4 separate regions of the Homo sapiens genome follow, and all the other regions are linked to region 1. The links are contacts of gene promoters, found by promoter capture Hi-C in blood cells and fetal thymus (Javierre and others, 2016). All regions are on one chromosome and are shown on one strand. Each heading gives the region's core, a stretch centred on a gene start or on the middle of the fragment in contact. The rest is flanking DNA. Distances are from core to core; before and after follow the strand shown.

Region 1 (7,840 bases), core at 2,096-4,595:
ATTTGATATTGAGCCACTTAGGTGAAGACCTAACTCTAACCACTTAAATTTCACTCCCACCATTCACCTCTCCCTGCTCTCAAGGGTAAGAGTTGGTCCTAGTGTCTGAGACTAGACACAAGCCTTCAGATAAGGCAGAGGAAGGATTCAAGAAGACAGGAAGCCATATGGACAATTAGGTCAATAATATATGGCATTTAAGTAAAAAACTAAGAATGTCAAGGTACTTCTTTCAGTTTTTTCTTTTTCTTTTCTTTCTTTCTTTCTTTTTTTGAGGGGGATGGAGCCTCACTCTGTTGCCCAGGCTGGAGTGCAATGGCACAATCTAGGCTCACTGCCACCTCTGCCTCCCAGGTTCAAGTGATTCTCCTGCCTCAGTCTCTCAAGTAGCTGGGACTGCAGGTGCCCACCACCACGCCCAGCTAATTTTTGTATTTTTAGTAGAGATGAGGTTTTGCTACGTTGGTCAGGCTGGTCTCGAACTCCTGACCTCAGGTGATCCACCCCCGTCGGCCTCCCAAAGTGCTGGGATCACAGGCGTGAGCCACCGCGCCCGGCCTTCTTTCAGTTTTTTTCTATTGACAGTATGCAATTAAAGCTAAGAGACTGTTAATTTAGTTTGAATTCCAAACTAGGAAAGAGGAGAAAAAAATCTTTGTTACTGTAGTAAAAAACATACTTAGGCCTAATTTCCACACAAACGTCTCAACTTCAAGTGTGTTTATATGGGAGATTATTAAAATTTTCTTAAGAGGGGAGAAATCTTCTTAGAAAAGATCTTGAGAAACAATGAGAATAATTTTTAAAATCAATAATTCTCAAATCACTGTGCTCTCAAGTGTGATATTCTCATGTACCCTACCAATATCCATGAAAGAAATGAATTAAATGGAGTTTATATATATAGAATACAAATTAGAGACTATATATGTTTTATGAACTGTAAAACATCAGAAATTTTTTTGTAATAAAGAGAATTATATATATGTATATACATAAATGTATGTATAATGTATATTGTATATGTGTTGCATGTTCAGATTATGAATATCCAGAAAGTAAATAATTTTTAGAAATAGGTAAAGATAAATTGTTTAAGGTTTGAGAATTTCGAATGGATTTCCTTTTCAACAAATGCTTAATAGTATTTCATCTGTGCTGTATTGCTTTCTTGAACTGTTTCCTGACCCAAGAGATTACCTAATTGCTCTACTGGCCCTAAAATAGCACAGCATTGGACTCTCTTATTATCTATCAGTCATGCTAGTCTTACTCATGGAGGCATAAACAGCACTGAAAATGAGATTTTAGGTCAACATTTCAGCTATTACACATAACTACCTAATACCTAGTTCATAAGGAAATGTCTTTTTCTGTGAAGGAAAACCCAGTAAATATCTTGTCTGAACATGTATCTCATAGGTTAATCTTTCCTTAGCCTAATTCACTGCCTCCCTGTGACTGGAAGGAAAGAAGTGACTCTAGTAAGGGGGAAGAGATGGCCCATCCAGCTCTCAGTTCTTATTAAAATTTTTATGTATTTTTCTTTTTAATTTTAATGGGTATATAGTAGGTGAATATGTTTATGGGGTACATGAAATATTTTGATACAGGCATAAGATGTATAATAATCTTTCAAGGTAAATGAAGTATCCATCACTTCAGGCATTTATTATTTCTTTGTGTTATAAACATTCCAATTATTCTCTTTTGGTTAGTTTAAAATGTATAATAAATGTTAACTGTAATCATCCTGTTGTGCTATCAAAACTAGATGTTATTCATTCTATCTAAATATATTTTTCTACCCATTAACCATTCCCACTTCCCCATCCCCCACTGCCAGCCTCTGGTAACCATCACTCTAGTCTCTATCTCCGTTAGTTCAATTGTTTTAATTTTTGGCTCCCACAAATGGAGTGCCAGCTCTTAGTTCTTTACCCAACAACTTGGTCAACCTCTCCTTATGTCCCTTTACTCACAATAAAGAAAAAAAGAGTTAATCCCTTAGCAAATTATTTCCCCTTTCAGTTAATTTAGTCAATATGTTTTAAAATGTTGAAAGTAGGAAAGGCTGATACACAGGGCCATTGCTTCTTCCTTGCCTGTATGGTTTTGTTACTGAAAAAACAACTCCATGTCAAAGTCTGATATTCTCGGAAATGCTGAATTCACTTGGTCTAATTCAATTTTAGATACACCTTGGTGAATTTTGTCATAAAAAACAGGATTTTTGTGATTAAACAAGATATCTACCCTGGGACATAATCCTATTCTAAGTACTATTTTCCAATGACTTAACAAAAAATCGATTATTATATATCAAATTGTGAAATCTTCCCCAGGTTATGTTCTGGAAAAAAACATGGCAATTTAAAAAAATGTAATTTGTGCATGTATTTGGAAGAAGAGATGCCTAGTTTCTAACCAAAATAATATAGGACAGTTTGTAAGATAATTGTTTTGTAAGGATATACAAACTTAATACAGAAACAAATAGCATAATTCAATTTTTGTTTTGAGATTTTTTTTTCAGTAAGGATTTTAACATCTTTGGACTTTTACATCTAATTAAGTTTTGATCAAGCTCTTTTTTTTCCTTTCTTTCTTTTTTTTTTTTTTTTTAAGAGACAGAGTCTGCTCTGTCGCCCAGGCTGGAGTCTCTCGACTCACTGCAACCTCTGCCCTCCTGGGTTGAAGCAATTCTCCTGCCTCAGCCTCCTGAATAACTGGGGCTACAGGCGCGTCCCACCACGTCCCACTAATTTTTTGTATTTTTAGTAGAAACGGAGTTTCACCGTGTTAGCCAGGATGGTCTTGATCTGCTGACCTCGTGATCTGCCCACCTTGGCCTCCCAAAGTGCTGGGATTATAGGCGTGAGCCACTGCGCCCGGCCTGATTTAAGCTCTCTTAGCAACTCAATGCACAGAATGGTAACTTACTACAGCGCTATGTTTCTTATAAACACCTGTTTACGGAGTATTAAAACTGCACATGAAGGATATTTAAGGAATTTGGGTATGGGGTAATAAATGGGAAGGGAAACATCATTTTTAGGGTTAGCGATCCTTAACTGTGTCCTTGCCTTCTTTTTCTTTCTCAAGTCTGGTCTCTGACTCGAAAAAGACGTCAAAGACCTGTCAGAACTAGATAAAATTATGATGGAGGTGTTTTGAAACACTAATCCTGTGGCCCCTGTCAAAAATTTAGGCTTTCATTTATTTAGGCCTGCCTTGCCTCAGCGATTAAAACGATGTCAGCCAGGTCGGCTGCTTTGCCGCAGCGTCCCCTTGCGGCCCTATCAGGACCGGAAGGAACACGCAGAAGCCGCAGAGGCTGTTGGGAGGTTGGGCCTCAGGCGGTGGACCAGAAGGAGCTTACTCGGGCCCTGACGTTGTCAGGAGGCCCTGGGGGATCCTGCTGAAGCTGCGATTTGGCGCAGAGCTGAGATGTCTGAGCTCTAGACACAGGGACCTCAGTGTCAAAAGATTTGGGAAGATGAATTGGGTCGGGGGGTCCCGGTAAGTTGTGCAGCTGGAGTTTGAGGCTGGGACATTCATTCCTACGACTCCTCTTTCTAGTTCCTGGCGGAGAGGTCACAGCCTTAGCTGGAAAGAACTTGGTAGGAAAGGGTCTTTTTATTGTTATCCAAATCGGGTTGGAGACTCTAGAACCATATCTCTACTCCTCAGACAAAAGTAACTCAGCTTCTCCCCACTCACTGCCTTTACAAAGGCTTCACCTGTGGGGGCCACTGTGAGTAACCTTCCCTGCTGCCCCTCCTCCCCTTCTCCATGTCCTATGCTCTGTTACTGTAATGAGGCCTTTTAGCACCTGAGCCCTCCCCTACTGCCTTCTTTCCGTGTCTACACCTCTTTTAGGTTCTTCTGAGTTGATATATAGTCTTTGCATGAATTTGGAAATTGTGAAACAGCCCAGTCCCAGCTGCACTTAAATCAATGGCAGGGCACCAGTATCACCATAAATCCAAATTGTAGTTTGTATTTTAAGGGGAAGTAAAGTGAACCGTTTTTACTTGAATAACTTGAGCGAATTTGCCATTTATTTTGTATTTAGGATTGATCACATAAAGCGTGATAGATTGAAAATTTAGTGTTATATAACCTATTCATTGTTATTGACCTTAAAGTCCAGCTGGGTGGAAATCATGTGGGCCTGTAATTTCATTTGATCAAAATTCTTGATGAGAAGAATTGTTTTGATTGAAACAAGAAGCCATTACATGTAATTTTTTTGTCACAAGTAGACCCAGGACAGTAATTATATGTTAGATTATAATGCGTTTGAATTCTAAAGAATTTATCGGAGGAAAGACAGCTTTTGTATTCACTAAGTATTGTAGCTATGCCTGATAATTTTAGCATGCACTTTTATCCTGTTGAATATGCTAGCATTGTATTTTAGAAATTTACCTGAATTACTTCTGGCTAGTGTTCTGGCAGCAGACGTACTCTGGAGAAAAGTGAAAATTTACTTACAGGCTTCAACAGGATTTAGTTGATACATGCTTATAATGTGATCTTTTTGAATTTAGTATTCTTTAAAATATTAAATAGGATTATATGAAATAATTTTACAAATGCTTAGCACTATTAAAATGTAGATGTTGCTATTATTCTGTCATATATCACAAACTTTTATGGCTATTTTGGGAGTAATATTTTAGTTGCTACTGGGAGGATGCAAAAACAATATACTGCAGGAAACATGTAACCTAGGATTGTGTTTCTGAAAATGAGGTGTACTGCAGCACCTGGAGGTGCAGCATCTGGAGATATTAGGTACCAGGGGGTTTAAGAAACATGGTTACATCTCCCCGAAGGATCAGTTTTAATCAGAGATTAGGAGAAAATATGTGTTTAAATTTATACAAACGTCGAAGTCAAAATAAAATGTAGAGACAAATCTCTAAATTTAACGTTTTATTTGGAAATGGCAGAATTGCAATTCAGGGCATACACAAAGTATGTCTTTGGTATGTCTGAAGAACAAAGAAAAGGGTGGGGATTTTACAAAAAAAGAGAAATGTTACATATGGTTTTGAAAGAAAGTTCATTGACAGTAGTGAAGTTGTGAGAAGCTGGCAAGCTTTGACTGGTGGGTGATGGTGGTAGTTAAAATGACCTCCTGGAAGGTCATTTTAGTAGTTATTTGGTATAACTGGTCCTAGGCAGTTTCAGAAGCTTGGCTTGCAGAGAATCATGTTTTTGGAGCAATGCTATGTGCCCTGTGTGCTTTTGCCTCCTGACATCTCAACTCTGATGTGGTTGGACATCACAAGAATGACTCAATTTGTGTGATCAACTTTCACACAAACATGGTTGCATTGTAGAGTGAAATGAAAAACTCTTGTGAAATGTTCAGATACACTGCAATTTTAAATAAATTTTATGTGGCGGGATAGGCTTCTTAGGGTAAAGCCCCAGATTGGTAATAAAAAAAAATGGGTGTCTCCATTTTCTATTTTCAGAACAGGCAAGGGTACACAAGATTAGTTGATCTTGGCACTCATAGTGTCCTAAAGGGCCTCAGTCTGAACTAGTGCTTTTAGTAACTAGTGGCAGCTGATGGAGCTAATAGAATAGAAATTTTAATCTTTATCCCAAACCATGCTGGAGTTCTTTTTACCCCCCTCCATTGTTAGGGATGTTTTTGGCTGAACATTTTAAGAAGAACTGTTAGGAACTTAAAATATAGACAAGTGAAGTGATTGGAGAACAATTCCTTCAGAACAATTCCAGAGCCTTCAACAGAAAGTAATTCAGCAAATATATTTTTTACCTGACTACCTGTTTAGGGAATTGGTAAGCTGTACAGGGGGATTCAGAAAAGAAAAATACATCTAGTCCACAAAAAGAACCTAGGAGAGAAAGTAGAGATTAAAATTAGGCAAATCACTATAATAATAGATATTTAAATAGGACTTAATATTGTCACAAGCACTGTTCTAAGTGCTTATTCATTTGCTCTTGAAAATGCTATGATTTATATACAAATATTATTCCCATTTTACTGATGGGGAAACTGAAGCATAGTTCATTAATGTTAAGTGACTTGACTAGAGGCACCCAGCTAGTAAATGGCAGAGTTAGGATTTGAGTTGAGTGTGCTTGCCCTCCATCCTATGCTGTATAGAAAGATGAGTGCCACAAATAAAGTAAATAAAAGTACCACAAAAAAGGGCTGTGGAAATTCAGAGAAATGAGAAACAGGAAGTTACACTAAGCCTTGAAGGACAGAAATAGTGCACAGAGCAAGCACCAAAGGGAAACAATCGAACACTGGTTCTTAAAAGTTAAAATGGAGGTGAAATAAATAATTGATCAAATTGGAGATCTAGGTTTCAGCAAGGCTTCTTAGGAAAGAGAAAGATGAGTTGGAAGGGAAGGTATTAAGGAACTTGAAAAATGTTAGTTTGCGATACTAGGTGAGTCTGCATTAAGACACTTAAACAGTTAATAAAGGGCTCTCTATATACTTTTTCTCAAGTGAATGAATGAAGCAAATTTATGTTTTAGTAATAGCAACCAGATTGCATACACTAATTTGAAGTAGATTGTTCTTGTATATTATAGAAACCTGATATAGTGAGTTTAATTGCAGAATCATTTGATAGCAATATCTTTACAGTTTTATAGTTGCAAAGATCTTTACAGCTTTTCTTATATAAACCAAACTGGGCATTTGACCCTTTGCTGCTCTTCAATTTAGGGACTTTACCAGTCATATATAAAATGTCTTTTTGTAAAGGAAAGAGCCAGTGATTAGAAATAAGCTTCCCTTATTTTCCTTTTTTAGTTGCTTACTTAGTTTGGCTTTACTGTTTTGGTTTTGGCCATCTTTGCAAGATATCATAACAGTGCATTTCAAACCAGGGTCTCACTGAGGGCAAAGAGATTGATCTAAGAAATTAATTTACATGTATATGATAGTAGTTCCCAAACTACTGTCTCTTTGAGACTTGCTAATCAATGATAATAGCAGGTTTTTCAATTTAATGGACTTTTTTCTTTTTTTCTGAAGTTATATCCTTGTTAAATTTTTTGATACTAAAATGCCCCCTTCTATTTTTAATCCTTTTTTGACAAAATTAAAATATCAATCTATTGTCAGTCCCACCAGTTAAAAATTTTTTTTTACTTATCTGGGACTTAGTGACCTACACCTCTCACATTGGTTTCATATTTGCTGGAAGGCACCACGGAGACCCTGTATTTTTCTAATCAGGTTGAAGTGCAGATTTGAGAGACAACATATGTAAGCATTGATTTGTTTTTAATTTTGAAAAGATTCTTTTATTTTCTTGTTTATTAATGACTAGTTTCACCAAATTCATACTTACCTCAGATATGAAGGTGGTAGTAAGAAAGGAGGAACATATAACCAGACTTTGGTCTGCAAAATGCTATTCAGAATCAGATCGGCTATAGATCTATAAATATACCACTATACATGCAGTATAAGATTTTTTTAAATTAGGGAGGTTTATTTTTATAATTCAGATTGGGGAATCAATCAATGTCATAAGAAAGGCCTAGGCAAAGTTCTGTTGGAATTTAGGTGAGGGAGAGGTTACCATTTGTAAATGTAGGCCTAGACCTAGTTCATCTAAGCAAGATATTATTGAGTGCTATGTACCAAGCACTGTGCCAGGTGTAAGTACAAAGTAACTGAAATTTAGTCTTTTTCTATAAGGTTGTAGTGTATTGGGGAAGAAAAGTATGACTTGCCATTAAGTTAGAAAATATTTAATGTCAGAGGCCAAAATAGGATATAAAAAATAAATAATGTGAACCATAGTAGAACATAGGATAGGTT
Region 2 (7,840 bases), core at 3,115-5,614, 220 kb before region 1:
AAACAAAAAACATTTCTAGGCTGAAAAATGCTTCAGATGAAATTTTAGTATGCCAAAGATTAAAGGGTGTTCACAATAAAATGTTATCAACAACAGTAAAGGCCAAGTTCCCATGATTCTACAGATACTTACTGAGGCAAAATCACAGTGTGGCCAGAAAGAACTTGAGAGTGCATGGGAGGAACGCTTGGCTAAGTACCAAAAACTGAATCAAAACCAGTGCCCAGAACATCTATCGAAGGCATGTCTTCATGAGAAGTGTTTAATGTTGTCACCACTTAAATTCTTCTCCAATCTTTTCAAGAAAAAGTATTTTGCTAGACATTTGCCTTTTAGAAATGGGATTTCAGGATTAGTAATGAATGCACTTAACAACTATATGTAATATTTTTTAAAAAAGGAGAACTGTAGAAATACATGAAAACCACAGCTTCTCCAAAACTTCATTTGAACCATTGATTCAATATAATTCCTTACCAAACTAGTTACAAGTTGCAAATATGCAGAGAAATAGACTAAATTAGACTGCATTCATGCATTCTTCCTACTCCTACCAGACAGGAAAATTAAATATATTGATAAAACAAAAACAAAATCAAACAAAACTGTGGCCTATCAAAACTGTATATTTGGACATTCTGGGTAATTGGCAAAGGGATAATCTGGCTCTAAGATAAAAAGGGTGACCGTGCCTCTTAGGAAATTTTATACAATTAGGAAGAGACACCAAAAAATTTATTTTATATTACATAAAAGGATATCTTCTAAACAGATAACAGAATAGTGAAAATCTTTCTGAGCCACCACCACCACAACTTGGGTAGAACAGGAGTTGGATCAATGTATTTCTAGAAAGAAAGGCAAGGAGAAAGCCATAATGGTAGTTTAAAAGTTTGTTAGGTTTAGAAACATTTTTTAAGATGTCCTCTAAAGGGTTCTAAAGTATTTCTACAATAAATAGTACACTAGCCTTGGTGGCTTATGCCTATAATTCCAACTACTCAGGAGGCCGAGGAGGGAGGATTGCTTGAGGACAGGAGTATGAGACCAGCCTAGGCAGGTAACATAGCAAGACACCTGTATTATACATACCTATACAAATAAATAAATAATTTTTAAATAATAAAATAAGAGGAGCCCCTTTCTCCTCTACTTAGAATTTAATTTTACCCAGTAACATACATTATATCAAACTTGTCCAACCTGCAGCCTGTAGGCTGCATGCGGCCCAGGATGACTTTGCATGTGGCCCAACACAAATTCATAAACTTTCTTAAAACATTATTAGTTTTTTTGGCAATTTTGGTTTTAGCTCATCAACTATCATTAGTGTTAGCGTATTTTATGTGTGGCCCAAGACAATTCTTCTTCTTCCAATGTGACCCAGGGAAGCCAAAAGACTGGACACCCTTGCATTATATTTAGTTAAAAAAAAATTACCTGTATATAACTAAAAACTGTAAAATATGTCATAACACATTGCAAGAGAAGAAACTACTACCATCATATGATTGTTGTGCTGGTTCATGAAGCAGTGTTTGGCATCTGCTTGTGAGAACTGGCACTACATGTACTCATAATTCAAGAATGTGTGTCATCCCCACTTAAAAGTCAAGAGCTCAGTAATGAACCTTTCCCACTTTGAGACAAAAATACACATCAAAAACCTTCAAACACCCCTTGACAAAAAAAAACCTAACAGTCATTCATTTACCCATTTGTTCATTCATCAAACCCTTGAACACCTGGGGGCTCTATGCAAAACACTAGGCTAGGCAATGAGAATACCAAGATATGCAATACACAGTACATGCCCTTATGGAACTCACAGTCTACAGTTTGTAAGACAAAGCATGTTTACTGTCTAAAAATGCCAAAATCTAATCAGCATACTAAGTTTTTAATTAGAAAAAGTTTAATCATTTCTGATGATACATTTGTATATACATGTGAGTGTGATACATATACACCTACATATTTAAAAATGTACACACACTTTTTCAGTGCTTCAATTTTAGATAACTTAATATGGTTTGATATGGAAAGAGCATGAGTCTAGGAGTCAAGACTTATGTTCTAGTGAATCTCAGCTGTTTATTAGCTACATGACCTAGGGCAGGTTACTTAACTTTCATTAGCCTGTTTCCCAGTACATGAAATGAAAGTAATAATACCTGTTTTACCTACCTTACAGGCTTTTTATGAAGATAAAATGGCAATAGATGTAATAGTGACTATTAAACTGTAGAACTCTACACAAACATGTTATTATAATCTAAAACATGAGAACTCATTATTTTAACTTTCAAAGCTATTAAAATATCTAGAATACTTTCATGTAAGTTTTTAAGTGAAACAATCTCAGCTTAGTAGCAAAGTCTTACTTCTTTAAGACTGTTGAAGACTTAATGAAAATTAAGTTAATGTTGAAATTAATGTTGAGTTAATATGAATGAGAACTGAATTAAATGTTAAAGAACTGCTACCTGTCAAAAGTTTCTCAAAGGACCAAATGCATCTTAATCACCTGGGAGCTTGTTAATCACATAGACTGGTAATTCTGAATTTCTAGTGGGTTTAGAAATCCACATATTTATCAAGCACCCAGGAGATTCTTTTTTATTTTTATTCATTCATTTTATAGACAGGGTCTCACTATGTTGCCCAGGCTAGAGTGCAGTGGCTATCCACAGACACAATCATGCTACTCTACTACCTCCAAGTGCACTGCTGCCTCCCAGACTCAAGCAATGGTCCTGACTCAGCCTCCCAAGTAGCTGAGGTAAGAGGCATGCGTTGCCATGCCTAGGTCCAGGAGATTCTTAGACACACTAAAATGTAGGAGCCACTGACATATGGTGAAAGACTACCTTTTCCAACTGACCTTATTAACAAATAAGATGAGAAAATAATGGTAACTTGATTAGAAATAAAAATAATGTGGAATAATTACTGCATTTTCCAGCTCCTCTCAAAATATTTTTTAATAAGAAAGGGTAACATATTTGGGGTATTCATTTCACTACTGTAAGTAGTGCTTAAGATAATCTGAGTTGTTACTCTTTTTCATAACTAAAAAACACAGCCACAAGCAGTTGAGAAATATACAGTAAGAATTTGGGGACATTAAATATAAAAATCCTCTTTTCCCTTGAGATAATGCTATTTAGCATAAATGCCATCTACTTGCAATGTAATACTACCATCCTGTTTCATTATATAGGTAGCAATGTAAAAACACATAATCATAATCAATGCAAATATGCTTTCTACAACTTAATAGTAAATGAGACTTCTAACATGTTCCAAAACAGAATTTTATATAAATACTATATCAAGAAAATAATGGAATTTTAAGAGTTCTTTGTCTTGGCAAATTAAATATAAAATTAGTGATACCTTCATACTATTTCAGCAGTATCAATAATATTCCAAATAGTATATATTCCTTGCTGAACTAATACAAATTTCAAATGCGCAATGTTAAACAAATTCTGTCTATGGAAAGTAAATTTTCCTAAGGCTTTTTTTTTCAAACTAAAAAAATATATAGTAGAATAGCCATTAAAGTGTATAATGGAGAATTTAAAGCTATTCATGTGGTAAAAATATACTTGAAGGCCAGGCACTGGCTCATGCATATAATCCTAGCACTTTGGGAGGCTAAGGCAGATGGATCACCTGAGGTCAGGAGTTCAAGAGCAGCCTGGCCAACATGGTGAAACCCAGTCTCTACTAAAAATACAAAAATTAGCTGGGCATGGTGGCAGGCGCCTGTAATCCCAGCTACTTGGGAGGCTGAGGCAGGAGAATCTCTTGGACCCGGGAGGCAGAGGTAGCAGTGAGCCAAGACTGTGCCATTACACTCCAGCCTGGACGACAAGAGCAAAACTCCATCAAAAAAACAAAAGAGAGAATTTATTTTTTAAATTTAATATTAAATGCTATTTTTAAAGTAAGAGATTAACTAGAAAAATAAATGCAATTTATTTTTCAAAAATGTATCTTTGCCAAAATAATTGCAACATTAAAAAAAGTATTTGTAAGAAAAATTTTGTTTATGTAAAATTGTTGCCATCTTACAGTAAAACTACAGTGCAGGAAATATTTAACTAGTAAAAGTCAAATAAAGCACTGTTAAAAAGCTTCATATAGTTCTTTAAATATCCCTTACATTAACATTTAAGAAACAAAAACCTACACACACTTTTCCTTGCAGCTGCTTTTAAAAAGCGTATATAAAGTTCCAAAACAAACCACTAAAAAAAGCCCTACATTATTGTTGCAAGTTTCTTACCAACAGACATTTCTCTGTTTGAAACAGAAGACTGCCTGTTCACTGAAATGACTAAAAACACGAAGTTGATCATTCTTAACTAGGCCGTAAGAAAAAAAAATATGCAATAAGAAAAATAATAAAGTCACTCAGTAGTGGACAAAATAGTAACAAGACAGTTACAAACCCATCATTATATGTGTGACTAACATTTTATTTTGTGTAGAAGAAAATTTCCCCTTTAGCTTATATGTAAAGCGTGTCTTTGCAGATTTCCTTTCTTCCCACCCTTCATGTTCAAGTCAAAGAAAGCTTAGAACATTCAAAACACATCTGTAAATTTCAACTAAAATTTGAAGTAACAGAACAGAGCCTGAAAACAAACAAACAAAAAAAATTATTCTATTCTCTAACAGCACCCCACTTCCTCCAAAAAAAAAAGCCAAACAAACACAAAATAATACTTTCAAGTTTTAACAAATTTTCAAGCAACATATTTGATACATTATGTAAAAGTGAAAACATCTCAAGGTCATTACAGTGTGATTATACCTCCTTTGTGGGTAACTATAACATTGTATTATCTTCAGACAGAAAGGGATGCATCAATGTCTCTATCTGCCCAATGCCAAAAGAAGTAGAATCAACAGACAGGAAATTCAAAGGCTCCAAATAAAAGAAAGCACAGTACTGGAACCAGGGAGTTGGCAAATGATTCTCTATTCTTTTGGCATCTGCACATACTTTAATGTCCAATCAATGCTTACCTCCCACTAAAGCCATCCATGTCACCCAAAATGTTCACTCCCTCCTGTGAAGGAACAAAGCCTGTGTTCTAGGTCATTTGGCATTTATCATTTGCTTACTTATGTATCCTTTTCCCTGTGTATCATCTAACTTGGCAGGTATACTTTAAGCTTTTCAAGGGAAGGACTGTTTTCTTCCTTTCTTGGCTTCACCATGTTAATTCATCTTTTGTTCTTTCTCAAAGATGTCAAGCTTCCTGCCTCCCTTTTCTCTCCTACTGCCACAATCTCCACTTTACGTGTATGACCACAAACTTAAATGGGCCCTCAGCACTATCAAAAGACTCATTCGTAATCTCAAATCAACCCACTCTCCAAAATAACTAATTCACTGCTTCTTCTATAATACCTCCAAACTCATGCTCAGCTCATTCCCTTGTTTCTTACTTCAGTGAGCAAATACAAGCTATCAGAATAAAACTTCATCTTCCCACTCCAAAATCTACCCATATACTTTGCTTTCAATATTGTTAAAATGAATGCACACTCCCTGCTCCTGTTAAAGGTCACTCTCTCCACTTGTGGACTGCATTCCATGATTTCCCACTTATTTGAAATTTTGCTCCTAGAATTATTCCTTCCAGCTCCTGCATTGTCGATTCTTCCCTTCCCAGTAGATCATTCTCAGCACACAAACATTTTAGAATTGCATTCCTCTCTTTATGCTAGAGATTTCTCATTTTTACAGTGGGGGTCAAAACAGTACTACTACATAAAATTACCGTGAAGTTTATTGTAATTACAATCATTACAATGTTTCAAACTTATCCTTGAACTTCATGTCCCTCTCTGGCTACCAGATTTCTCTAATATCCTTTTTGACAATCTCAAAACAATGGCTTATTCTTGCTGTTTTGAATTCCTCATTCTCTCCTGTACCTCCTTTACTCAGGCCTTTGTCTCTACTCATCCCTGAAAACCCACTGTCAAAGACATTAACAACTTATCATATAACCAAATCCAATAGTCTATTCTCAATCTTCAATGAGTAATATATCAAACCCTTACTATGCTGCCAGAAATATTCATTTATTCCCTCCAGTAACTCTGTGAGATAAATACTATAATTATCTCATTTTACAGAAGATAAAACCAAGGCTTCTAGAGGTTAGGTAACTTGCTCAAGATCATACAGCTTGCTCAATCTCTTAGAAAGTCCTAGAGAAAATCCCATTATCATTTTAACAAATATTCCCCTACTCAATTTCTTCACAAGCAACAAGGTGCTATCCTCATGTTCCTATTCACAATGACTCTCAATCTCTCTTAACCCATGCCCATTCCAAAAAACAAACAAAAATCTCTCTCAATTGGCCTTTTACATATTATATTTAGCATAAAATCAGTAGCTAAATATATTTAGCATATAAATATATGCTAAATATATTTAGCATAAAATAAGTAGCATAAAATCAAGGCATATGAATAGAGAAAAGAAAACGTGACAAATAGTCAAGAGAAAAAAACAGATAATGGAAAAAAAATCTCCAGATGATCAAGATGCTGTAGTTAGCTAATGAGGATTTTTAAAAAACTTACAAATACATTAAAGAATGGAGAAGAAAAAAATATAAAAAGTTTATTAAAACAGCAGTCCCTGACCTTTTGGCACCAAGGACTGGTTTCGTGGAAGACAGTTTTTCCAGGGATGGTCGGGGGGTTGGGTGGAGGGGGATGATGGTTTTGGGATAAAACTGTTCCACCTCAGATCGTCAGGCATTAGATTCTCAAGAAGCACACAACCTAGATCCCTCACATGTGCAGTTCGCAATAAGGTTCATACTCCTATGATAATTTAATGCCACCACTGATCTGACAGGAGGCAAAACTCAGGGGGCAATGCTGGCTCAACTGCTGCTCACTTCCTGCTGTGTGCCTGGTTCCTAGCAGGCCACAGACTGGTAACAGTTCCTAGCAGGCCACAGACTGTTACCAGTCTGTGGTCCAGGGATTGAGGAACCCCTGATAAAGAAATACAGAATTTCAAGAGAAAATTTGAACCTATAAAAATAGTTAAATGCATATTCTCAAACTAAAAAAATAAAGTATCTGAAATCAGGAACTCATTGAATAGGTTTAATAGCAGCTTGGACAAAGAAGATGTGTTTGGTTAGCTCAAAAACAGATCAATAGAAAATATCCAATATGAAGCACAGAGAGAAAGAAGAAGAGAACAGAGCATAAGGGAGAAGTGGGATGCTCTCAACACATAACACATGTATAATTAGAGTCCCAGAACAAGAGAATGTGGCAGAAGCAATAGTTGTGGGGGCTTTTGTTGGTTTTTTTTTGTTTTTTTTTTGGAGACAGGGTCCCACTCTGTCACTCAGGCTGGAGTACAGTGGCATGATCATGGCTCACTGCAGCCTCAACCTTCTGGGCTCAAGTGATCCTCCCACCTCAACTTATTGAGTAGCTGGGACCACAGGTGCGTGCCACCACGCCCAGCTAATCTTTTTTATTTTTTATTTTTTTGTTGTTGTTGTTTTAAGGGTCTCCCTATGTTGCCCAGGCTGGTCTCTAACTCCTGGTCTCAAGCAATCCTCCTGCCTTGGCCTCTGAAAGTGTTGGGATTACAGGCATGAATCACCACACCCAGCCAAAAAGCAGTATTTGAAAGTACAATGGCCAATAATTTTCCAAAACTAACGAAAGACAAGCTTAGAGATGTAAGAATCAATGAACCTTAAGCAAATAAGAAAGAGCCAGGTTTGGTGGTTCACATCTGTAATCCCAGCACCTTAGGAGGCTGAGTTGG
Region 3 (7,840 bases), core at 3,736-6,235, 200 kb before region 1:
CCACCTTTATGTCACTCCTGGAACATAATAACTGCTTTCTCACTCATCTCCTACATTTTCACCTCTTATAATACAGTCCACCTTGTACCGAGCAACAAGAGTTATCTTTCTGAAATGCATATTAGATCATGTCACATCTCTACTTGAAGCTCTCTAAAGATTTCTCACTAAAAGCGAAGTCTAAAATTTCCACCCAGACCTATAAGGCCCTTAATGATCTTACCTCTCTACCTACCTCTCCGATCTTACCTATCTTCACCCTCGGTTCTATTTTCTATATCTGGCTATACTGTCCTTCTCACCTGTCCACTAACAGGCCAGTTTATTTCTTAGCCCTTTTTCACTTGCTTTTGCTGGAATGCTGTTCTCTCAGGTCTTCTCATGGCTCATTTTCCAATATTCAGGTCTCAACTCAAATGACTCCTCCCAACCAAGGACAACTACTATCAAGCATATTGTTTTACCCTCTCCATAGTATATATCAATATCTGGATTTAAAAAAAAATATTTATTGTCTCTATCCTCACCCAATGCTCAGCTCCTTGAGAATTAAAGCTCTTGTCTTGCTCACATCTGTACCCTCAATACCCAGAACTCCCTTCCAGGCACACCAGTGGCAGTCAAATGGTTTTTGACAGACTGAATAAAGTCTCCGTAAGAATAATCCGAAGTAAATTATATTTTTCACCTCTGATGTTAAAGACCAGAGCTATGTGCCTGCTGATGTATTAAGCATCCAGACAGAGGACAAACAAGAAATAAAAGAGCCTATCCTTGCTTTTGAGTAATTCACAATGAATTGGAGGAGGAATAAAAAACCAACATAAGCCCAAGATACTAAAGATAACTGTTTACAAAGCAATCTATGAATAAACTTACTGTCATATAATATAAATTATATACATGGAGGGGTTATAAGTGTTGAGAATATGATAGAATTAGGAAAGGCGTCCTTAAAAGAGAATAATTTTTTGAGGCATATATTATCAATATCCTTTTACAGATGAGGGAACAGAGGCTTAGGCAGATTAAAGAATCCACCCAAGGTTAAAAACTAGGAAAGGAGTCAGGTTCAAGCAAGTCTCCTAATGTCAGAGCCCATTTTCCTCAGGAAATCATGTTTCTGCCGCTTCCTTATAACAAGAGCTAGCTACTCTGAAAGATACATCTAACAGAAGTAAGATTAGAAACTAAAAAAAAAAAAAAAAAAAAATGGAGCTGTCAAGGACATCTAGAAATCTATGCAAGATTCAACAGCAAAACTCCACCAATAATAAATGTTTACCCTGCCTTGGGTCTTTGGGTCTTTGAATGATAAAACAGGTAATCGGTCTACCAAGACAAAACTGGCTGGTACCCACAAGACACTGAGATTGATGAAATGGAAACATACGAAAAAAAATAAGCAGTTAACAAAGGAGTCTTAAATTGTATTCAAAATATTTTTAGAATTGGAATATTTTAAGAAATTTCCATAAAAGCTTTCTACCTCACTAAAATTCAAGCTGTCCACTCTAAATGGATGTTATTAACTAACTGTGTGAGAAAAGGATGTTGCGAATATGTGTGAGTATACACACATGTACACGCATGTATGCGTGTACTCATATCCTTGTATGTGTGGATGAACAGTCGTCAATAAATATTTGCATTTAACATATGTGATGAAAATAGGAATAAATTCATGGAGAGGTATTTTTAAAAATGGAATGAGCATGGAAATTAAAAAAGCATTAGAGAAGAGAAAGCAAATAAACCAAGGAGGCTATGTCAAAGATAAGGCAAAGACCAGATGTCATGGGACTTATATCATTATTAAGAAGCATTTACATTACTATTTTGGAAATTAAGGCCGGGCACGGTGGCTCACGCCTGTAATCCCAGCACTTTGTGAGGCCGAGGTGGGCAGATCACTTGAAGCCAGGAGTTTGAGACCAGCCTGGCCAACATGGTGAAACCCCATCTCTACTAAAAATACAAAAAAAAAAAAAAAAATAGCTGGGCATGGTGGTGGATGCTGGTAATCCCAGCTACTTGGGAGGCTGAGGCACAAGGATTGCCTGAACCCAGCAGGCACAGATTACAGTGAGGTGAGATCACACCACTGCATTCCAGCCTGGGTGACAGAGTGAGACTCTGTTAAAAAAAAAAAAAAAAAGAAAAGAAAGAAAATTAAGAAATCGTTTTACTGTCTGAGAAAGTAGCTAATGTGATTATAGTGGCTGGAGGGGCAAACTAATAGCTTACACATAATGTGTTCATACTTCATTTTTGGCATGTTTCATGGGAGAGCCATCAGGTCTTGTGTAGACATGCAAGGCTCTCCCAGCTGGACTGAGGGCAAAACCCCTATCTGAATCATCTTGCATTTCCCCATCAAACTATGTTGAGTGCACTTGATCTAGTGGGGCTCAGTAACTAATAAACGGAACTGAACTAAATTAAAACACATGGAATGGATCTGAGCTGAAATAAATTGGAATGGTCAGGGATGGAAGTTACTTATTATCCTTAAAAATTTTGTTTCTTTAGATATCGGAATACTTTAGTAACTTCTGCTGTGCCTACAATGAACTTGGAGCAATAGCTTTCTTTTTACATTTTTACTAGCTGTACTTTCCAAAATGCCTGTAATATACTCAACAGTAGTATTATCTACTTTACACACAAAAGGACCTGACTCATAGAGAGGGGTAACGTTATTTTTCACAGGGTTACTTTTACACCGCTACTACCTCAAAGGAAGTCAGTGAAACAGAAGGGATTTGAACTCAAAGTCCAACAGCATTACTTTTCATCATCAAAGTTCATTTTAAAATATTCAATAGTAAAAAGAAAATTATGCAATGTGCAAATAAACATATTTGATAGTCCAAAAGAAAAGAAAACCACAAACCACAAAGATGACTGCTATTGCATCTTTTTTGTTTGTTTGTTTGAGACGGTCTCTCTCTGTTGCCCAGTCTGGAGTGCAGTGGCACAGCCTGGGCTCACTGCAACCTCCACTTCCTGGGTTCAAGCAATTCTCCTGTCTCAGCCTCCTGAGTAGCTGAGATTACAGGTGCCTGCCACCACACCCAGCTAATTTTTGTATTGTTAATAGAGATGGGGTTTCACCATGTTGGCCAGGCTGATCTCAAGCTCCTGACCTCAGATGATCCAGCTGCCTCAGCCTCCCAAAGTGCTGAGATTACAAGCATGAGCCACCCGCGCCCAGCCACATCTTTTTCTTTCTAAAGGTAAACAGAGAACATGGTTCTCATCACAAGGCACAGAAAACAATTCAAATATATAAGCCTCTGCTGTGCAGTATGGGTAGGGATGATTTTGAAGAATGTTCATTCTTAGTCTAGTCCTACTATTGTGTTCATTATCCTAATAGCTTATATGTGGATGATTCTTCCTTGTCAAAGACAGCAAATAGGGCTTTCTTAGTCATCCTCAATAGTCCACTTAACTGTCTACCACAAATATTCTAGGTCCATCTGACAGTATTTCATTTCACAGTAAACCAACTTTTGTGAAGGACTCAAAAGGTATTTGTTTTAACAATTCAATCAAGTTTGCTTTCTAAAAAGGTTTGTCTTAAAAAGTGAAGGTTGTTTTCAGGATCATTTAAGTTTCAGACCTCATTTGTTGATACCTTATCTCTCAGAAACTTGTTTTTCAACCCAAACAAAACTAGTTATCTAGTCAAAGGTTTCAGTGGCTATTATTGTGTCAACAATCAAGACCCAATTATTGAGTAAGATCCTTAGAAAAAACAGAGTCACAAATAATTGTTAATTGATTTTTCTTATTTAACCATGGTAATTAAAATTTTTATAATATGCAATGTGACTTGTCTCATAACTACAAAGAGGAAAAGTAAAATTAATCAAATGTCTTTGCTAAGTTAGCAAAGGAACTGTCACTTCAGTCAATCTTTAAAAATGACTTCAAATTACCGTGGCTCACACCTGTAATCCCAGCACTTTGGGAGGCCGAGGTGGGCGGATCATGAGGTCAGGAGATCGAAACCATCCTGGCCAACATGGTGAAACCCTGGCTCTACTAAAAATACAAAAATTAGCTGGACGTGGTGGCGTATGCCTGTAATCCTAGCTACTCGGGAGGCTGAGGCAGGAGAATCACTTGAACCGGGGAGTCAGAGGTTGCAGTGAGCCGGGATGTTGTCACTGCACTCCAGCCTGGTGACAGAGAGAGACTCCGTCTCAAAAAAAAAAAAAAAAGGACTTCAAATTAGACATGACACATGGAAATGAGATGTTCACTTATAGTTTAAATATAAAGTATGTGTGTGTGTGATCAATTATGGGGTCTTAGTAAAAACCTTGTTGGTATAAGTAGAGGTGTGCTCAGATTAATGACATATTAAGCAATATATTTAAGAGGTTTAAGGATTAATATGCCAAAGAGCTCACCTTGCCTGCTAACCAACTAGAAATAAATAAGTATCCCCCATGTCAAAGATAAACAGAAAAGGAATGAATTTCCATTAACACACATACCAACAGAGAACAAAGATTAAGAAAACATTTTATTCAAACTGCTCTAGGGGGTTTAATCATCTCAGTCTTAACTTTCACAACTCAACATATTCATTAAAGATAATTCAAGATATCCATTCTATCATATAAATACAATGCTAATAGCTTTGACTGGTAATATCAAGGTCACATATTATCAAATATAAATGCACTATTATCATCCCTTTTCTTCATCATTGAAGACAGACATAATAAATTGTAAAAAGGGGGCCCAAGTGAAGACTAGAAAGAATCTCTGTTAAAGAAATAGATTTTTGCAAGTTAGTCCCAACTAACATTTCAGGATTACTATGTGCCAGACATTATTCTGAGTGCTTTATGTCAATTAATTCTCATAACGATCCTATTATGTTAGTACTCTTATTACCTCCACTTCACGGATAAAGAAACCAACCAAGATGAAAGTGTGGTTTTATAAACAGGAACTCACCAAAGAAATTAACCCTATCTTAAGGTGATTTTGAAAGAAATTATGGTTAGTTATTAGATATTACCTAGAAGAGGAAAAATAGAGTTTCAGGTAGATGGAGAGGGAAAGAGGAAAACAGCAGATAGAAGGAGGAGAAAAAAGAAGAGGAGGGATAAAACTAAAAAAGAAAAAAGAATCTAACATCTCACAAACAATTCTAAAGAACATTCTAACAATCTTAACAACCCTGTGAGATAGGGATTAAGGGATTAACCCTATTTTATACATGAGAAAACTAAGGCTCATAAAAGTTAAGTGGCCATCCGAAATTCTGAACTCAAATATTTGTGATTCTAAAGTCCATGCTTGGCTGGGCACGGTGGCTCATGCTTACAATCCCAGCACTTTGGGAAACTGAGGGAGGAGGATCTCTTGAGCTCAGGAGTTTCAGACCAGCCTGGTCAACATAGCAAAACCCTAAGACCCTGGAAAAAAAAAAAACAACCTTAAAAAAATAAAAACGTAAATAAATAAAGTCCATGCTTTTTTCCATAAGTCATGCTGCAAAAGAAAATAAAATTAAGGGTCAGGTGTGGTGGCTCACACCTGTCATGCCAACACTTTGGGAGGCCGAGGTGGGCGGATCACCTGAGGTCAAGAGTTCAAAACCAGCCTGGCCAACATAGTGAAACCCTGTCTCTACTAAAAATATAAAAATTAGCCGGGCTTGGTGGCAGGCACCTGTAATCCCAGCTATTCGGGAGACTGAGGCAGGAGAATCACTTGGACCTGGGAGTCAGAGGTTGCAGTGAGCCAAGATGGCGCCATTGCACTCCAGCCTGGGGGACAAGAGCAAGACTTCGTCTCAAAAAAAAAAAAAGAAAGAAAGAAACATATCAATTTATTTTTTTGTGAACATTAATATATTTTATACCATATTGGGCAGATTCATTCAACTCCTTAGTGGATTTTATGTTTTGGTGTGTGTGTTTCATGTCAATCCCATACTGCTATGATTTGAATGTGTCCCCAAATTTCATGTATTAGAAACTTAATCCCCAAATTCATTATGTTGTTTGAGGGTAGGGCCTTTGGGAGATAATAAGGATTAGATAAGGTCATAGAGGAAGGCCCCCATGATGAAACTAGTGGCTTTGTAAGAAGAAGAAGACTTGAGCAGACACACACCCTCCCTCTTGCCATGTGATGTCCTTCACCATGGTACTATGCTGCCAGAAAGCCCTCATCAGATGTCAGCACCCAGAACCAGGAGCTAAATAAATTTATTTTCTGTATAAGTCGTCCCTGTTGGTATTCTGTTATAGCAACAGAAAATGGACTGAGACACACATGGAAATCACAGCTTCTAGATCCCATGTGATTTTAGTCTCAAAACATCCTAGGGCCTCCAGGTTGAATGGGGTAAAGTAGAAAGCTGGACAACTAAACTGGATGGCATGGAAGTGAAGTAATGTCCAGAGATGACCTAGAACAGATCAGTGCCAGCCTATGTATACAAGTGGAATAACTCTGGTGGCAGCTGCCAGTTCTGTGCAGCCCACATGAGTTGAAGGAGACCCCAGTTGGGACAAAAGGGGACAAGTTTCCCTCTCCACAGAGAGGGGGCTTTCAATAATTTCACTTTGTCAAGTGGGTTTGGATTCAAGACACGGGGAAAGAGATCTAAATCAGGAAACCAAGACAAAAGCCAAGTTTGGACAAGTAAAATAGGAGGTTAAAGGGAAGGCTATGATCCTAAAAGCACAGGAATAATTAATAATAAGTCTGGAGTAGCAGCCAAAAAATTTCACACTAATGGGTTGGTGGAACAAAACTACTGCTGTGATTTACTTGTGGCTTTATTGAGGACTGACCCAGAAACTCAGGAAAGGCTGAGTTTGTCCACTTGGGGCATGAAGAACGTCATCTGAAAAAAGTTAAGCAAGACAGGAATTCAAAGGCAGCCTGACGTTATAGAACACACACTTGTGAAAAATTATGATTAGGTTATATAAAGTTAATAAAAAATTTAGAGCCAAAGCTAACTAAAGAAACCAAAACCCAATCTGCTACAGAGGCAACAGAAGATCCAATTCCTCTCATGTAACAAAATAGATAAGAATATTATCAAGGACAGATGGAATCTGTTGTCAATCTAAGGGCAAGTTAGCAAACTAAAATTCAAAAGCCTCATATTGTATTGCCTAAATTGACACTTGAAAATGTCACAGATGTCACACTGGAATTAAGGAACTTCAAATGGCAGGTCAAATAACCAGGAATGAAATCTGCAATCTCATGTTTAATTAGCAGTTGCCAACCTCCACTTTAGGACAGGACAGGTGAAGACTAACAGACCAACACGCTACTCAAAGAGAAGTGTTTTGTGTTGAACTGAGGTGAAAGCAAGCAAAATAAACACCTTAGAAACTCACTTATTTTCAAGAAACATGAACTAGTTATGGTCTTGTGTTTGATTTACCATCACTGGCTTGGAATAATGTGCTGGGAAATATCTACTTCATCCTAATACATTGTGTCTTTACATAGATATAGGTGAAAAGTTAAAATTAAATATCAATATATCTTTTTCTGGAAAACATCCTCAGTACCATAATGCTTACCCATATATTCTGGGTGAGCAGCACTATTCACTCTCATCAATTCCAATAAACACTCTTTGGTAAAGTCAGTGTTCATCAGTAGAAATGAAACATTATAAAGAATCAAAGGAGACAGCATAGTTCCTATAAAAATGAAATTAATGCCCTTACTAAACAATAAAGTCATGTCAATTAAATCACTGATATATTGAATTTAATGCATATTGTACTGAGTTATTGAAATAAAGCAGATGGTGTATAATATTTAGCATGTTACT
Region 4 (7,840 bases), core at 3,728-6,227, 160 kb before region 1:
AATAATACTTACATATTTTGGTTATTCAATATTAAAATATAAAGATAGAAATTTTACTTTTGTAGGACATAAAAAGAACTATTAACTCAAACCTCAAGCTGTTGCCAAAACTAATGCATTACCTTCCCAGGAAATGCCTGACTCCAGCCTGTCCTATCCTTAATTCATCCTACACATTAGCATCTGTATACCAGAACAACTATCAAATTATCTGTGAATTCTTTTTCTATCATCAAGATTTTGGAAATATTTATCTGAGTATTTGGCTTTAAAAAAATGATTTAGTGACTGTATAAAATCGAAGTACTAGCAGTATTGTTGCACTCCAGCCTGGTGACAGAGCGAGACTCTGTCTCAAAAAAAAAAAAATACTAGTAGTGTTGTTAGTAGTGAAAAATCCACGAGTCTGCAGCGACCTCAATTCTTGTCTCCTTGGAAGAAAGAATTCAACCGAGGGGTATAAGGCAGAGTGAGAAACCAAAGCAAGTTTTAGAGCAGGAGTGAAAGTTTATTAAAAAGTTTCAGAGCAGGGCCAGGTGCGGTGGCTCACGCCTGTAATCCTAGCACTTTGGGAGGCCAGGGTGGGTGGATTGCCTGAGTTCAGGAGTTGAAGATCAGCCTGGGCAACACGGTGAAACCTTGTTTCTACTAAAATACAAAAAAAAAATAAAAGTTTCAGAGCAGGAATAAAAATAAAGTACACTTGGAAGAGGGCCAAACCAGTGACTTGAGAGATTCATGTGAATAGTTTGACCATTGACTTGGGGTTTTATACATTGGTATTCTTCTGGGGTCTTCCCTCATCTCTTCTCCCTAATTCTTTTTTTGGAGTGGCTGTCCACATGTGCAGTGGGCTGCCAACTCTTGGGAGGGGCCACGTGCGCAGTGTGCTTACTGACGTTGTGCACATGCTCATTGAGGCGTTTTTCCCTTACCAGTTGAGTGTTCCTATAAGGTCATATGCCAGTTAAACTCTGCCATTTTGCCTCTTAGTGTTTATGCATGAGGTCACTCACCCAGCTCCTGAGATCTTATCGGGAAGCTGTGGATTACCAGTTTCAGTTGTTTCTGTCTGTTGGGAGACTGCCTTTCCCTGTTGCTGGCTGCAAACAATTATTATTTTAGAGGCAGTTTAACCACCACCTGACCATCAGCTGATGGTCACCTGACATTCCTGGTGGGGCGGGTGGTGCTCTCTCCTGCCTTGCTCGTGTCTGCTTGATTACCTACTATAATGGTGTCATTGCTATATATACATGCATTTCTCTAAAACACTTCCGCAAATATCCATTCCTTACTACTCCTACTAACTTGATAAGGAATCCATAGAATAGTGTAGTTTCGAAATTGAAATGAAAGTATAGTTTGCAAGGCTGGGCGCAGTGGCTCACACCTGTAATCCCAGCACTTTGGGAGGCCGAGGTGGGTGGATCACAAGGTCAGAAGTTTGAGACCAGCCTGACTAACATGGTGAAACCCCATCTCTAAAAAAAAAAAAAGAAAAAAAAAAAGAAAGTATAGTTTGCTACCTATGCTTCTAAGACACTGTATTTGCCACCTCCATACCTGAAATTTCCATGCTATTTTCACAATTTCCCTATCCTCATAACAGTTTGAGCCTCCTGTTTAAACTTACCCCCACTTGGATCACTTTCATAATTCTTGTTCTTTATTAAATTCATGTCTCCTCAATGTATTATTTTTTTCTGTCCTACTTGGCAGTAAACTCCACTCACTTGACTATAACCTCTAGCAAAGTATGGATTCCGCATCCTGTTTTCTACTTGGTGTCCAGTGTTTACCATAAAGCAGCAGCACAAAGAGGATGCTCCATAACTGTTTACTGAACAAAAGGATGAATAAATGGCAACATCTTCAAGCCCAAACATTAACTAACATGAATATTAGTTAAGGAAACACTAGCTGCTCTTGGAATACAGTTTTATCAATTAAGTGGCAGCACGTTTTACTGCTCATCCAGGGTATGTAGATGTGCCCATAGGTTTTATTTTGTTCCTGCTTATTTTAAACCTGTGAAGCAGTTCAGAGTAACATACAAAAAAAAAAGGAAAGTTTCACCATACCAAATATCTGTCATATTCTGGAGTGAGATATTAGACTCAGAAAAAGTCTAAATATAAATAACATAATATAAATAAAATTCTAAATTTAAATATAAATAAAATTCTATGGGTTTACATAGAAGAGTATGCAAACATGTGAACCATGATGCATTATTATTTTTTATTGCTTGTCACAGCTTCTTATACCCCTCATTAATGCATATTTGATGTTTTTATTTGGCAACATCATGCATCAATAATGATATTCTCTAATTATTTTAATTTCCTAATTAATCTAAACACCAAATTATTTTGTTTTGTTTTTACTGGTGGGTGGGTGGAGTGCTTTAAAATGTCATGTCTTGACAGGCTGGGGCCTCCCACCTCCCACCTGGGACTCTAAGCCTGAGATAGAGGCCAAGGCCCGGATGGCAGTGCCCAGGCCCTGTACGTGAGGTCTCTGGTGCTATCTCCAGAATGTGGCATGCATCAGACGCTGAAGGAGATGGACTTTGAGAGGGAAATCCACTTGGTAACCATGAAGAAGAATGGTTACAATGTTCCTTACTCTCCCAGCCACAGTGGGTACTACACTATTTGCCATTCTTGCTGGAAAGTAGAGCCAAGTTACTGGTATTCCCAAATCCACAAAGTGCTACTGCCTACACCAGGTACATTATGAGAAAGCTTTTGCTTTCTCATAGGCTTAACTTCAAGGTGGCAGATGATGACAAATTCTCCAGACTGTACAATGTTGCTTTGAAGGGTCAAGAAGACCTTTGTTCTCTCCTTTGAAACTCAGACCAGTCCTAAGGCTGTCTGAGTTGGAAAGGCATGAGCAACATGTGACCTGATGCCCTGTAATAGTAACTGAGTAAATGTTTGTGTCTCCTCCACCTCCCCAATTAATACGTTGAAGTCCTAATACCCAGTGTGATAGTATGAAGGGACAGGGTCCTTGGGAGATAATTAGGGTTAGATGAGGTCATGAGGGTGAGGCCCTCATGATGGGATTAGTGCCTTTGTAAAAAGGGACACTAGAGAGCTTGCTCTCCCTCTCTCTGTCTCTGTCTCCCTACACATGCACAAAAAGGTATGTAAGGACACAGTGAGAAGGTGGCCATTTGCAAGGCAGAAAGCAAGCCCTCACCAGGAAATGAATAGGCCAGCACTTTGATCTTGCATTTTCCAGCCTCCAGAATTATGAGAAACAAATTTCCATTGTTTAAAACACCCAATCTAAGGTATTTGCTATGGCAGCCCAAGCAGACTAAAACAGATTTAGTTACCAAAAAGTAGGGTACTACTGTAACAAATATCTAAACATATTTGTGCAAGTGGCTTTGGAACTGCGTACTGGGTAGAGGCTGGAAGAGTTTTGAGGCACATATTAGAAATATGGGCATTAGTGATTCTTGTGTGGTCTCAGATGGAAGTGAATAACCTGTTATCAGAACTAGAGGAAAGGCAATCCTTGTTATAAAGTGACAAACACTTGACTAAATTGTGTACTAGTGTTTTGTGGAAGGCAGAACTTGCTTGCAATGAAACTAGGTATTTAGCTAAGGAGATATATAAGCAAAGTGTTGAACGAGTGGCTTAGTTCTTCCTGACTGCTTATAGTAAAACGTGAATAGAGAGAGAGGAATTAAAGAAGGAATTGTTACACACAAAAAAACCCAAAACTTGAAGATTTAAGAAGTTCTCAGCTGCCCATATTGCAAAAATAAGAAAGCATATTCTGAAAAGCACACCAGAGGTGTTGCTAGACTGTCACTTGTTAAAGAGTTTATGGAATTATACAAAGAGAAACATTGCAAGTTTGAGCTGAAGGGGATTGAGATGGGATGAAATAAAGGAAGGCTTTTAGACCTCTTGGATTTGATAGGATGGGATGATAGTGCCATTTGGCTGAGAACATGCACTATTCATCAAGAGGCAACAATGACCCTGAAGGTGATTAAGAGGGTGATCAAGGCCACTACCTTAGTTTTAACCAGCCAAACAGCCTCTGCCTGAAGCTGTTGGGGTGGGACCCTGACCTGGAACAAAGGAGCAATGCAGCCACCACAGTGTATCCAGAGAGCAGAACATCAAGCAAAAGAGGATTATCCTCAAGCCTTAAGATCTAATGAAATTTGCCTTACCAGGACTTGGATTTGCTTGGGACCTGTCACTCCTTTCTTTCTTCTGAAATGACCGTTTTTGAATGGAAATGTTTATCTTATGCCTGTTCTACCAGGGTATTTTGAAAGCATATAACTTTTTTGATTTTACAAGTTCACAGCTGGAGATGAATTTTGCCTCACTATATATCATAAGTCCAGTTTCACCCATATTTTATTTAGATGATATTTAGATGAGACTTTGAACTTTAGAGTAGATGCTGGAATTAGTTAAATCTTTTGAGGCTATTGGGATGGAATGAATGTATTTTGCATGGAAGAAAGACATGTATTTTGGGGGACCAAGGATGGAATTTAGGGACTGAATATTTGTGTCCCCCACCCCCAAATTCATATGTTAATGCCCTGACCCCCAATATGATAATATTTCAAGATGGGACCCTTGGGAGATAATTAGCGTTAGATGAGGTCATGAGTACGTGGCCTTCATAATGAGATTAGTGCCCTTATAAAAAAAAGGAAGGAAGACCAGCTCTCTCTCTCTCTCTCACTCCCTCTCATTCTCCCTCACTCTCCCTCTCTGATGATAGAAAATATCATCAGGATATTAAAATATCCCTATCTTTTAGAAAGAGGTCAGAGGGGAAACCAGAGAGCAGGTTTGAGGGGTGAGGACTGCAAGTGCTAAAGCTTGAACAGATTATCAAACTCCAAATTATTCATGTGATGATGCCTACTCATTTGGGAGGGAAAGAGGGAGATCCCTCCCTCCATACACAAAAATTAATTTTTAAGGTATAAAATACCCATATATAAAAACCAAAACTATGTAAGTATTAGAAGTAACTACAAAATATATGATACAAATCAAAAGTTTTATAAAAGAAAAGCTTGACAAGTTGAGTACATAAAAGTTTTAAACTGCTACAAAAAAAGACAACTTGAACAAAGTTAAAAATAAGTGACAAAGCAAAAGATTGCTATATATGTATTACAAAGGATTCATATCCAAAATATGTTTTGTTTTGTTTTGTTTTGTTTTGTTTTTGAGACAGACTCTCACTCTGTAGTCCAGTCTGGAGTGCAGTGGTGCAATCATGGCTCACTGCAGTATCCACCTCACCGGCTCAAGGGATCCTCCAACCTCAGCCTCCAGTAACTAGGACCACACATCCAGCCAATATTTAAATTTTCTGTAGAGAAGGAGTCTCCCTATATTGCTCAGGCTTGTCTTGAATTCCTGGGCTCAAGCGATGCTCTCACCTTGGCCTCCCAGAGTACTGGGATTACAGATGTGAACTACCACGCCCAGTCCCAGAATATGTTATAAATCTCCTACAAATCAAAATGAAGAGACCAAAAAATTTTACAGAATGAGCAAAAGATATGGACTGACCATTCACAGAAGAGATCATACCAAACAACAACAACACAAAATGGTGCTCACCTTAGTAGTAATTAGGAAAATGCAAAATAAGGCAAAAAGTCAATGGCATTTTTGATCCTTTAGATTGTTACTAATAATGGCTTTCTGATAGAATCACAAATGTTGGCAACGTTTGACACTTCTTAGTGTTTTCCATATATTAACTCATTTAATCCTCACAGTAACCCTATGATTAGGTGCTATATTGTCATCCATATTTTAAATATATTAACTCATTTAATCCTCACAGTAACCCTATGATTAGGTGCTATATTGTCATCCACATTTTACAGTTGAACTGAGGCACAATATGGCTTAGTAACTTATACTGAGGTCTCACAGCTAATAAGTGGCTCTAGAGTCAATGCTCTAACCATTTCATTACATTGTGTATCAACTGGTAGCAACCTTTCTGGATGATAATTTCGCTGTAATAAAAACTTTTAAATAAATACACACTCAGACACATGAACTGTCAATTCTTGAGAATTGACAGTTCTGCTCTCTGGAATCAGAGGACTTAGGTTGGAGTATGAATCCACCTAATTACTGCCAAGTGCAAACAAGTCACTTCACTTCTCTGAGTTTCAGAATTTTTATGGTATTTATTTTTATAGATTTAGTGAGTACAAGTACAGGTTTGTTACTTAGATATTTGCATAATAATTTTCATTTTAAAATGAAAATTCTATATGGTTGCATTGTGAAAATTAAAAGAGATTATATATTAGAAACACTTTGCAAATCAAAAACACTTTAAGACATTCTCTGATCTTACTGAATTTTTGTACTTTAAGAAAGCACTGGTGCTTGAGTTTTTGAATTTACTGAATAAAAATATTTCAGTGGAAAGCTAGTAGTCTTTCTGAATTTTCTTTTTTTTTTTTTTTTTGAGACAAAGTCTTGCTCTGTTATGGAGGCTGGAGTGCAGTGGTGTGATCTCGGCTCACTGCAACCTCTGCCTCCCTGGTTCAAGTGATTCTCCTGCCTTAGCCTCCAGAGTAGCTAGGATTACAGGCCTGCACTGCCATGCCCAGCTAATTTGTTTTGTTTTGTTGCATTTTTAGTAGAAATGGGATTTCACCATGTTGGCCAGGCTGCTCTTGAACTCCTGACCTCAAGTCATCTGCCCACCTCAGCCTCCCAAAGTGCTGGGATTACAGGCGTAAGCCACTGCGCCCAGCCAGTCTTTCTTAATTTGATGAGCCTGTAATTTAAAAAAATTAAAAAATCAGTTTTGGAGTTGGTCATCAGCATTTTCAGGACGAAATACTAAGCTAAGAATTCAGCAGGCACTGGGAGTGGCAGATGACAAAGAAATAGGACTCATAGTGCTTCCCCTTCCAAGTTTACCATTTCCTTGTGGTTACACAACATGCACACAGGCAAGAGCTTAACATTTACAAAATAGTAGAGATGCTGTGGGGGTTCAGTGCGAACAAAACACATACAGCAAAGTCCTTGAAAGCAGAAGGCTTTTGGTGTCCAATAAGACCTAATTCATAATCCTGGCTTCTTCAGTTTCATAAACTAGAAATCACACTACCTACCAGGAAGGATTATCCTCAAAATCAAATTAGTGTAAATAAAATGGTTAGCACATACAGTATCTGGCATGAAGTTAAGAGCTTCTGCTATTATTGGCTGCAAAGAGAAGTCAGAGAGAAGAGTGAGCACAGTTCAGAACATCAGGCAGTAATTTAGTAAAGTGTAGTGTGAGAAAACATTTTCTAAAAGAAATATGTTTCACACAGGCCTTAAAAGAGAAAAAGAAGAAATGACATTTCCAAAATACTTGCTTTTAGCATGGGAGTCTTTACATGCTGGGACACATTAATCTGAGAGTGCGGTAACACACCAGTAGCCAAAATTTAAAAAGAATAGGAATTTTGATGATGAATATAGGAAAAGTAAGTTGCACTGTTTCAGCTATCAATTTATATCTACATACCAGTGCATAATGTTATCAAATTCATCACACTTTCAAAAAAAGAATGATAACCTCTCTGATTAAAAAAAAATCAGATTTTCACAGAAAAGGCAACATGGATGCTTTCTACTATTAAATTGAAGTATTTTCTATCTAGAGGTAAAGCAGCAAGCAGAACTTCAGAGCAACTTAAATTCAAAGTTGCCTTTAAAAAAAAAACTAATTGACTTTATTTTTTGAGCAATTTTAGGTTTACAGAAAAATTGAGTGGAAAGGACCAAGTTCCCATATACCC

The links. The method cuts DNA at HindIII sites, captures the fragments that hold promoters and counts their contacts. A CHiCAGO score of 5 or more calls a contact.
Region 2: a fragment that was not itself captured here is called in contact with the fragment with the promoter of REDIC1 in region 1 in 2 of 17 cell types (naive CD4 T cells and total CD4 T cells); the score reaches 6.0 in naive CD4 T cells.
Region 3: a fragment that was not itself captured here is called in contact with the fragment with the promoter of REDIC1 in region 1 in 3 of 17 cell types (non-activated CD4 T cells, total CD8 T cells and naive CD8 T cells); the score reaches 8.0 in non-activated CD4 T cells.
Region 4: a fragment that was not itself captured here is called in contact with the fragment with the promoter of REDIC1 in region 1 in 2 of 17 cell types (naive CD8 T cells and activated CD4 T cells); the score reaches 5.4 in naive CD8 T cells.

Annotation. Positions count from the first base shown.
Region 1 is chr12:39,622,838-39,630,677 of GRCh38, forward strand. It overlaps REDIC1 (regulator of DNA class I crossover intermediates 1), which reads left to right and starts at 3,346. Exons shown (of 13, transcript NM_001031748.4): 1 at 3,346-3,522. The coding sequence starts at 3,500. The HindIII fragment of the contact is 5,259 bases long and covers 1-5,108 here.
Region 2 is chr12:39,401,453-39,409,292 of GRCh38, forward strand. All of the region lies in intron 1 of KIF21A (kinesin family member 21A), which reads right to left. Among named protein-coding and RNA genes, the nearest start is that of KIF21A, 38 kb to the right of the region's middle. RefSeq lists an enhancer at 1,815-1,864. The HindIII fragment of the contact is 443 bases long and covers 4,144-4,586 here.
Region 3 is chr12:39,424,741-39,432,580 of GRCh38, forward strand. The region is part of intron 1 of KIF21A (kinesin family member 21A); the gene reads right to left. Among named protein-coding and RNA genes, the nearest start is that of KIF21A, 14 kb to the right of the region's middle. The HindIII fragment of the contact is 7,012 bases long and covers 1,480-7,840 here.
Region 4 is chr12:39,458,213-39,466,052 of GRCh38, forward strand. No RefSeq gene overlaps it. Among named protein-coding and RNA genes, the nearest start is that of KIF21A, 19 kb to the left of the region's middle. The HindIII fragment of the contact is 200 bases long and covers 4,878-5,077 here.